Linked DNA regions of Homo sapiens: region 2 is linked to region 1. The links are contacts of gene promoters, found by promoter capture Hi-C in blood cells and fetal thymus (Javierre and others, 2016). All regions are on one chromosome and are shown on one strand. Each heading gives the region's core, a stretch centred on a gene start or on the middle of the fragment in contact. The rest is flanking DNA. Distances are from core to core; before and after follow the strand shown. Region 1 holds the start of FPR1 (formyl peptide receptor 1). Region 2 overlaps MIMT1 (MER1 repeat containing imprinted transcript 1).

What was found. Contacts are between HindIII fragments. The CHiCAGO score rates a contact against its expected background, and 5 or more counts as called.
Region 2: a fragment that was not itself captured here is called in contact with the fragment with the promoter of FPR1 in region 1 in 1 of 17 cell types (activated CD4 T cells); the score reaches 6.1 in activated CD4 T cells.

Annotation. Positions count from the first base shown.
Region 1 is chr19:51,749,198-51,754,145 of GRCh38, forward strand. It overlaps FPR1 (formyl peptide receptor 1), which reads right to left and starts at 2,681. Exons shown (of 2, transcript NM_002029.4): 1 at 2,617-2,681. The HindIII fragment of the contact is 1,877 bases long and covers 1,875-3,751 here.
Region 2 is chr19:56,845,509-56,849,878 of GRCh38, forward strand. MIMT1 (MER1 repeat containing imprinted transcript 1) reads left to right here. Exons shown (of 2, transcript NR_024059.2): 2 at 2,444-3,048. Among named protein-coding and RNA genes, the nearest start is that of MIMT1, 6.8 kb to the left of the region's middle. The HindIII fragment of the contact is 1,439 bases long and covers 2,333-3,771 here.

The sequences.
Region 1 (4,948 bases), core at 1,431-3,930:
GAGCGAGACTCCGTTTCAAAAAAAAAAAAAAGATATGCAACTTCTCCACTCCAAATTCTGCTCGCTCTCTCTCTTTAAGGTCATGAAATCTCCCTTTCCTCTCTCATCGTGGGAAGCAAGGCATAGTACTTGGTTAGTTTTCCAACATAGGTCAAATGGATCCGTGAGTGATACTAAACGACGTATAATCAAGTATTATATCCAATGGATTCTGTGCTAGAAGAAGTCAGAACAACAGACTCTGTTTCCACTCTCGTCTCTGCGGTTACCTTGGCCAGATGGATGGGAGGTGCTTCTCCATCCATTGGATGGGCTCAGCACTCTTGGGGATGTAGAAGACCGTGATAGAAATAATAGTCCAAATATGTATTGGATATGACATTTCATTAGATCAGGTATGCAAAGTGCATGTCAGGTTCTTGCTGAGAGCTGGCCTTCTCTCTTTTTTTTAATTTATTTTATTTTATTTATTTATTTATTTTGAGATGGAGTCTCTCTCTATCACCCAGGCTGGAGTGCAGTGGCGTGATCTGAGCTCACTGCAACCTCCGCCTCCCAGGTTCAAGCAATTCTCCTGTCTCAGCCTCCTGAGTAGCTGGGATTTCAGGTGCACGCCGCCGTGCCTGGCTAATTTTTCTTTTTAATTGTATTTTAGTAGACATGGGGTTTCACCATGTTGCCCAGGCTGGTCTCAAACTCTTGAGCTCAGGCAGTCCACCTGCCTCAGCCTCCCAAAGTGCTAGGATTACAGGTGTGAGCCACTGCGCCCGGCCTGGTCTTCTCTTCTAATGCTTGCAGCAGCCTTCCTCAAAATTGTTACTATGAGGGTCACTGTCTTTATGGTACCCATTTTGCAGACGAGGAAAGTGCGACTTAGAGCATTTCAGTTAATTCCTTAAAGTCACCCAACAGCCCAGGCTGTCGAATTCCAGCAAAAGTCTCTTTCTGCCTCTGCCCTGCCACGCTACTGGCACAGAAGAGCTGTCTAATGCACTAGTCACTCACCACATGTGGTTTTCAAGCACTTGAATTGTGGCTAGTCCAACTGGAGACAGGCTGTAGGAGTAAAATACCCATCAGATTTCAAAGACTTAGTATGAAAAAAATATTGTGACCATCTCATTAATAGTTTTTATATTGACTACATGTTAAAATGATAATAATTTGGCTATTTAAGTTTAGGTTAGATATTTTATTAAAATTAAGTTCGCATGTTTCTCTTCACCTTTTTAAAGTGCCTACTTGACACTTTGAAATTACATATGTGTCTCACATTTCTAATGAACTTTGATACTCTACAATCTCAGAAACAACTCAGAGATGTCTCCCTCCCCTACCACCCATCCAACCACCAAAATACCCTGAGGACTCTTTGTCCTCAAGAATCTCTAAGGCAACCAGTTCAGAAGATTGTTGCAATGAATGATGAGGATTCTGCAATAATGAGCTGGAACATACCAGAGAGGAAAACCTGTGCAATTTTGTCCAATTATGGTTCAAGGGAAAAATCCTGTGATTTGCAATGAACACAGGCCTTGGTGGCTGCCATCGATGAAGGACTTTATGCTTGATAATCATTGTACCACATCCTCAACTTTCTTGCCTCTGATCTCAACAAACTCAGCATTGATTATACATCATCATCCCTGTGTGACGGAAGAGGAAACTAGGAGCTTGATGAGAAATGACAGCCAATGTCTGCAGATTCATGAGAGGGCAGGGCTGTATTCCGCTACTGGGTCCTATGCACCATGCAGAACCAGTGTCTTCACGTGGAGACTCATCACTGATCCGAAAGGTGACTGCTTCTGTATTACACTCATTTCCCCATGACCCATCATAAAGTCGTTAGGGCTCTTTTGCTTTCTCCTGAAAGCTTCAAACCAAACATCCTTTCCCATCCCGACTCAAGCCCTCAAGCTGATGCCCTTGCCTCTTGCTCCACCAGATTCTCCTCCTGCTGGCTCCTGCATCACTGTTCTCTGCCCTCATCTCTGTAACCAGAAAACAAGTGTTTCCATCCAAGAATTACCCTCTACTGGTCCCATAAAACTCATTCCCCCATTTACTCAAGAACTTCCCTCCTTCACTTATCCCTTCTCTCTCCTGCAGCCTCATAGTGTCTCTATATTCCATCATTCCCATCAGGACCCCAATAAAGTCTAGAGCCTATTTGTTTATTTATTTATTTACTTATTTATTTGAGATGGAGTCTCACTCTGTCACCTAGGCTGGAGTACAGTGGTGCAATCTGAGCTCACTGCAACCTCCACCTCCCAGATTCAAGCAATTCTCCTGCCTCAGCCTCCCAAGTAGCTTGAATTACAGACGCCCACCACCACGCCTGGCTAATTTTTGTATTTTTAATAGAAGTGAGGTTTCAACATGTTGGCCAGGCTGGTCTCGAACTCCTGACCTCAAGTTATCCACCTGCCTTGGCCTCCCAAAGTGCTGGGATTACAAGCATGAGTCACCGTGCCCGGCCTGTTTAGAACCTCTTTAAAAAAATTATTCTTCAACTCCACATCCTTCTTCAAACAAAGAGTCTATTGTGTTCACCAGTGTATTAAGTGTGTCTATGTCAAGCTACCCAGTCCCCCAGAATATGTTTCTTACCTGGACTGTTCACCAGCTGTGGTCTTGCTCTGGGTAGTTCTAGGTCTGGGTCTCCTGGGGAGAGTGACTCAGGCTCTAATGATTGCAGCAAAACATACACCAAGGAACAGGAGGAGGGGTAAAGGAACTAAAACCAGCTGGGTAGCAGGAAATAGGAAGTCTGAGCTTCTTCTGATTTTTGATGGCCCCAAGAATACACCAATATACTGTCTGCTTTAATGGCATTAGGACAGTGGGCTGGGCCTGTTTAGAAACTCATGTACCTGACTGTATTTCTCAGCCTCAGTCTCTGTGGGATGCAGAGGTTCAGTGCTCTCAACAACAAGGGCCAAGAAATCCAAGTGTCCGGGCCCCTGCTCCCTCCAAGGGTCAAGGTAAAGAAAGCAGCAAGCACTGTGGTGAGAAGAATCAGAGGGAGGCAATGAAAGGAAGAGAAGAAGTCATGAGGGATGGAGACCAGAAACACAGAGAGAGGTAAGGGAGTGGGGGAAGTTGAGACAGTTGGCAGGACAGCGCGTCCACACCCATGCACACCACCAAGATTAACCCCATAATCCTCTGATCTTGTGGAAGCTCATTTGTAGTCTTCTAGCCCAAAGAAATAACCGTTTTTCTGAAATGTTAAGCATCCTTCCAAGGGTATCAGAGTGATATGGAGAAATATGGTAAGACAGTTACAGAATCAGAGATAACGACACTGATTCTAAAAGCATTATTACCAAGGCATTGTTGCATTAAGACTGTTTTTTCTTTTCTTTTAGAGACAGTATCCTGCTACGTTGCCCAGGCATGTCTCAGACCCCTGGGTTTAGTGATCCTCCTGCCTCAGCCTCCCCAAATGCTGGGATTACAGGCATGAGCCGGGCTGTTTTTAATTCTAAGTAATTTATAATTTACAATTACACCTAACAATGGCTTCAACAAGGGGTGTCCAATCTTTTGCCTTCCCTGGGCCACACTGGAAGAAGAAGAATTGTCTTGGGCCACACATAAAATACACTAACACTAACGATACCTGATGAGCTAAAAAAAAAAAAAAAAAAAAAAATCCCCCAAAAATCTGATAATGTTTTAAGAAAGTTTATGAATTTGTGTTGGGCTGCATTCAAAGCCATCTTAGGCCATGGGCTGGACAAGCTTAGCTTAGAACCAAGACGAAATTTATGGTTTACTTTACAAGAATTTTGCAAGAGGGTAATACTAGGTTAGGTTATATCTGGAAAATATCATCAAGAACTACATTCATTTTAATCTTTTCTCTTTTTTATCCCTAATATGGTGACTTTTTTTCCTGGGGATTGCCACTTCATGGCTCCAAGAAAGCTACCACAGCTCCTGACTTCACATTACAGCAGGGGTCCCCAACCTCCAGGCCATAGACCAATACACAGACCGATACCGGTCTGTGGCCTGTTAGGAAGTGGGCTGCACAGCAGGTGACTGGCAGGTGAGCAAGAGAAGCTTCATCTGTATTTATAGCCACTCCCCATTGCTGGCATTACTGCCTGAGCTCTGCCTCCTGTCAGATTAGTGGCGGCATTAGATTCTCATAACAGTGTGAACCCTACTGTGAACTGTGCATGCCAGGGATCTGGGTTGTGTGCTCCTTATGAGAATCTAATGCCTGATGATCTGTCACTGTCTCCCATCACTCCCAGATGGGACTGTCTAGTTGCGGGAAAGCAAGCTCAGGGCTCCCACGGATTCTACATCATTGTGAGTTGTATAATTATTTCATTGTGTATTACAATGTAATAATAATAATAGAAATAAAGTCTACAATAAATGCAATGTGCTTAAATCATCCTGAAACCATCTACCCCGCCACCCCATGGAGAAATTGTTTTTTATGAAACTGGTCCCTGGTGCCAAAAATGTTGGGGACTGCTACACTCCAGCATCCCACACCAGGAGGATGGGGATGAGATGGAGAATCACTGAAGATCTTTAATCAGAAGGGTGATATGTTCATTTGTACTTTATAAACATTTGTGTTTGTATTTTATAAACATTTTCTTGGGATCATAACAACAGATGCATTTTAGAAGATTCCCAAGGTATGAAGGGTAACAAATGAAGACGTGCCTAGGAGTCACATGGAAGCCAACACTTTGTAAGGGGATTAAAATAAAGGGAATGGCAGAGGACATCATTATGCACAGAGGAGAAGGGCCCAAATGTCAAGAGAAAACAAGAGACAAGGGACTCCACAGAGAGTAATTGCCAGAAAAATTTGTAGGTCTTTTGAAGTCTGACTGTTCTTCCTAAAACGGGGGTCCTGGGACACCCCTACCTGTTTCCCATGAGCCCTCTTTTCTAAAACATAAGTAGG
Region 2 (4,370 bases), core at 1,802-4,301, 5.1 Mb after region 1:
CATTCATTGGGAAGATTGTATTATTTAACATCATCTGATGATTGGTGAATAAAGCAGGTTTTATGTTGAAAACTGTATTCCTAAACCCTGCTTGATCATGATTATGTGTATCTGATTCGTATACACATGCAGCTGGGTACTACTGAGTTATACTTTTTTATTACACTATCCTTGTCTGGTTTTGCTACCAAGGTTGTAACAGCCTTATAGAATGATTTGGATTGTTATCTCACTTCTTATATTCTCTACCATAGTTTATAAACTCCTCTCCATTGGAAATTATGTCCCTTTTTCTATTACTAATATTATTAATCTCTCCATGTTTCTCCATCAGTTTTGCTAAAGATTTGACAGTTTTGTCTTTTTAAAATGACTTGATTTTGTTGACCATATTCTTCCTTCTTTTCCATGTAATTAATTTCTGTTCTTTTTGTAGTTCTTTCTTGTTCAGTTCTGTATTTCATTGTTTCCATTAGATTTCCTCTTTGCGACATGAAGAAACGTCTTTAGGGGTCAAAGATCTTGGGGAAAAAAACTATCTTTTGAATACAGATTTCCAAATTAATTGCATTATACTCATATAGCATGGCCCATATGCTACTATTTCACATTTGTCAAAGCATCCTTGGTGATCTTAAGATATGGTTAATTTTAATTGTTCAATATATTAGAAAAGAATGAGTATTGTCTAATTGTTAGGTATCAATTTCTATTTATGTTCATAGGATCAACTTGTTAACTGTGTTCAGATTTTTAGTATTCTTGGTAATTTTTTGTCTGCCTGATCTATCTGTTCTAGATATAATAAAATCTCCCAATATTCCTATGGTTTTATCCACCACTCCTTATAATTAATAGTTTTTGCTTTATATATATATATTTCAAGGCTATGTTTTTAGGTGCAAACAAGGCCATGACTCTTTGTTGAGAAACACAGGGAAGTTAATCTGCTTACATTTTTAATTATTGATGTATTTGTTTAATATGCTTTTGGTCATTTATTTTCTCCTTTCCTGCATTCTACTAAATTGATCAAGTTTTCTTTAGTCCCCTTTCTTCCTTCTGCTTATTTGGGAGGTTTCAATTATATTTATTACTTCACTGTCTATCTTTAAGTTCCTAATTTCTACATAAGCATATATTTTTTTAACAGACTATAAAGTACTAAAGCAAACATGTTGGCACACGTTAGCAATTCACTGGATTTCCCATTCCCACCTTCATTAATATTGTCTAGAATTTTAATTATACCTGTTTTAAACAAATGAAAACATTTTTACAGTCAATGATTAATTATATTTACTGGTATTTCAAGAATTTATTCACTCATTCTTGTTTCTTGAATCTCACTCCTCGTCCCTCGAGGTTTACTTTTTCTCATTGCAATAAATCCTTAAATGTGTCTTTAAATAAGTGTATAAGGTAGTCTATTTGTATTTCTAAAAATGTCTTTATGAGACATTTTTGAATGACATTTTAGCCAGGTATGGAATTCTTAGGTAACCTTTATCTTCTCTCCTTATTTTGAAGATATTATTCCATTGTCTTCTAACAAACCTGATGAGGAGGTCTGCATCAGCGTAATGTTCCTTTCTAATAACGTCTAGTTTTTCCCGCGGTAGCTTTCAGAATAGATGTTATGTATAGATTTTTGTTTATCCTGCTCAGGATTGATGTGACCAATGAAGGTCTTTCTTCCATTCTGGAGAATTCTTGGGCCAGTGTTTCTTTAAATAGAACTTTTCTGCCATTCCATTTCTACTCTTTTCAACCTATAAAGTATAATGACCCGTCTTAATCCATCCTCCATTTGTCTCAATCTTTCTGTTTTTCATACTGTTTTCTGTGCTTTCTGAGTAACTTCTCTTTTTAACTGCATCTGGTAATAGCATTTCCCTAGATGTTTTAAATACAGTAACTATGTTTTCTGTTCTATGATTTCCAATTGGTACTTTTTTTATATCTACCTTTCTCAAATGGATGAACATTTTATGGACACTATTCTTTATTTCTTCAAAAATCGTAAAGTCACACTAACACTATTTGAATTGCATTTTGAAAGGACTGAATTCATGTCTTGATTGCTAGTTTTGCTGTCTTGTTCATTTTAAGATTTCCTAACTTTAACCCAGTGCTTTGCAAGTTTAGTTTCTAAGTGTTTTTCCTATGGGTTATCTTTTCCCCTCCTCTCTGAACTTTTCTTCCCTCCATGTCTTTTTGGCTGTCTCTACCTCACCCATGAGAAGCACAGTCCAGAGACAATCTTGTATTGTCAACTGGGGATTTTGTGCCATGTGACAAAAGGGGTGTATTAGTCACTGAGCAAGATTAAAGCTTAGGCTGGGTCCTCTCTGCATGGCTTTGTTTTTTCACCCCCTGCCACCACTCGTAAGTAAAAAACCTGGGTATCCATCACTGTTTGTTGTTGTTGTTGTTTTTCCAGGCTCCTTTTATGTCAGGAGAGTCCAAATCCAGTACCTGTTTGCCACAATGAGCCTGGGACCTCAACATGCATGGAGTGCTTCCGGACCTCATTACCCAAGAGCAGTCAGATTTTTAATTTCCTCTGCCTTTTTCAAGATCATTAGTTCAGAAGGTTTATGTTTTCAATTCCACATATCCTTGCATTTTTCTTTCAAGTTTTGACCCATATGGATATCTTAAATATTCCTATTATTGCAAGTTTATATTAAAAGGAGGTTAAATTGTGAACTCACAAACTCATAGCATCATAGCACCATCTCAATCAAAAGTATTATCTTCTGTGAACTACAACAGTTTTCACTTCTTTCGCAAGTGTGGAGTGACGTTTGCCTGAGGCTGTATGACCTGTGATATCATGACAAATTGAAGGCCAAAGCAGATGCGAATCCAGCTGTTTTCTATTAAGTCAAATGCCAAGGAGATTTACAAAGATGTAAAATAATGCGCCTCTTCTCAATAACCTTTGGTTTTGAAAATTGTTATTTTTCATAAAAAATGTTGCTTCCATTAACCTGTAATAGGTTTACTACCATTATTTTAAATAAAATACACATTTCAAATGGCTTAATTTTTTCTTAAGATATAATTGATAAGTAAAAATTGTATATATAGTGTACAACATGGTGTTTCAATATACATATACATTGTAAAAGGATATCAAGCTAATTAACATATCTATCACCTCACTATTTTTGTGTGTGAAGAACACTTAAGATCTACTCTGTTAGCAATTTTCAAGTATAAACTATAGTCACCATACTGTGCAACAGATCACCAGGACTTTTTAATCCCATCTAACCGAAATTTTGCACCCTTTGGCCAACATCAGCTCATCTCCTCTGACCCCTGACAACCACCATTCTACTCTCTACTTGTATGAGTTCAACTTTTTTAGATTCCAAATATAAATGAGATCATGCAGTGTTTGTCTTACCGTAATGTCCTCCAGGTTTATCCATGTTGTCATAAGTGACAGCATTTCCTTCTTTTTAAAGGCTGGAAAAGTATGCCATTGTACATATATTCATTTTATTTATCCATTCATCAATCCATGGACAATTAGGTTGATTCCACATCTTGGCTAATGTGAATAATGCTGCAATGAACATAGAAGTGTATACTGATTTTGTTTAGATATGTAGCCAGAAGTGAGATTGCTGGGTCATACGGTAGTTTTACTTTTTTTAAATGAATTTCCATACTGTTTTCCATAATGGCTATATTAATTTACGTTCCCACCAACAATGTACACAGGTTCCCTTTCTCCATATCTTTGCCAACACTTGAAGCTTTTTAGTTTGATTCAATCCCTTTTGTCTATTTTTGCTTTTTCTGCCTGTGCTTTTAAAGTCTTATCCAAAAATCATTGGTCAGACCAATGACAAGAAGTTTCTTCCGTTACGTTTTCTCCCATTAGTTTCACAGTTTCAGCTCTTAAGTCTTTAATCCATTTTGAGTTGATTTTGTAATATGGTGTGTCTAATTTCATTCCTTCATATATGGATATCTAGTTTTCCCCACCCACTTATTTAAAAAAAAGTCCTTTCCCTGTTGTGTGTTCTTGACACTTTTGTCAAAGATTGACTGACTATAAATTACGGGATCTATTTCTGGGCTATTTTGTTCTATTGGTCTCTATGTCTGGTTTTATGCCAGTATCATGCTGTTTTTATTACTGTAGCTTTATACTCAATTTTGAAATCAGGTAGTGTGATGCCTTTCCAGCTTTGTTCTTTTTGCTGAAAGTTTGGTTATTTGGGGTATTCTGTGGTTTCTTATGAGTTTTAGGAGTATTTTTCTATTTCTGTGAAAAATGACACTGGAATTTTTTTATGGAAATTGCGCTGAATCTACACATCACTTTGGGTAGTATGGAGATTTTAACA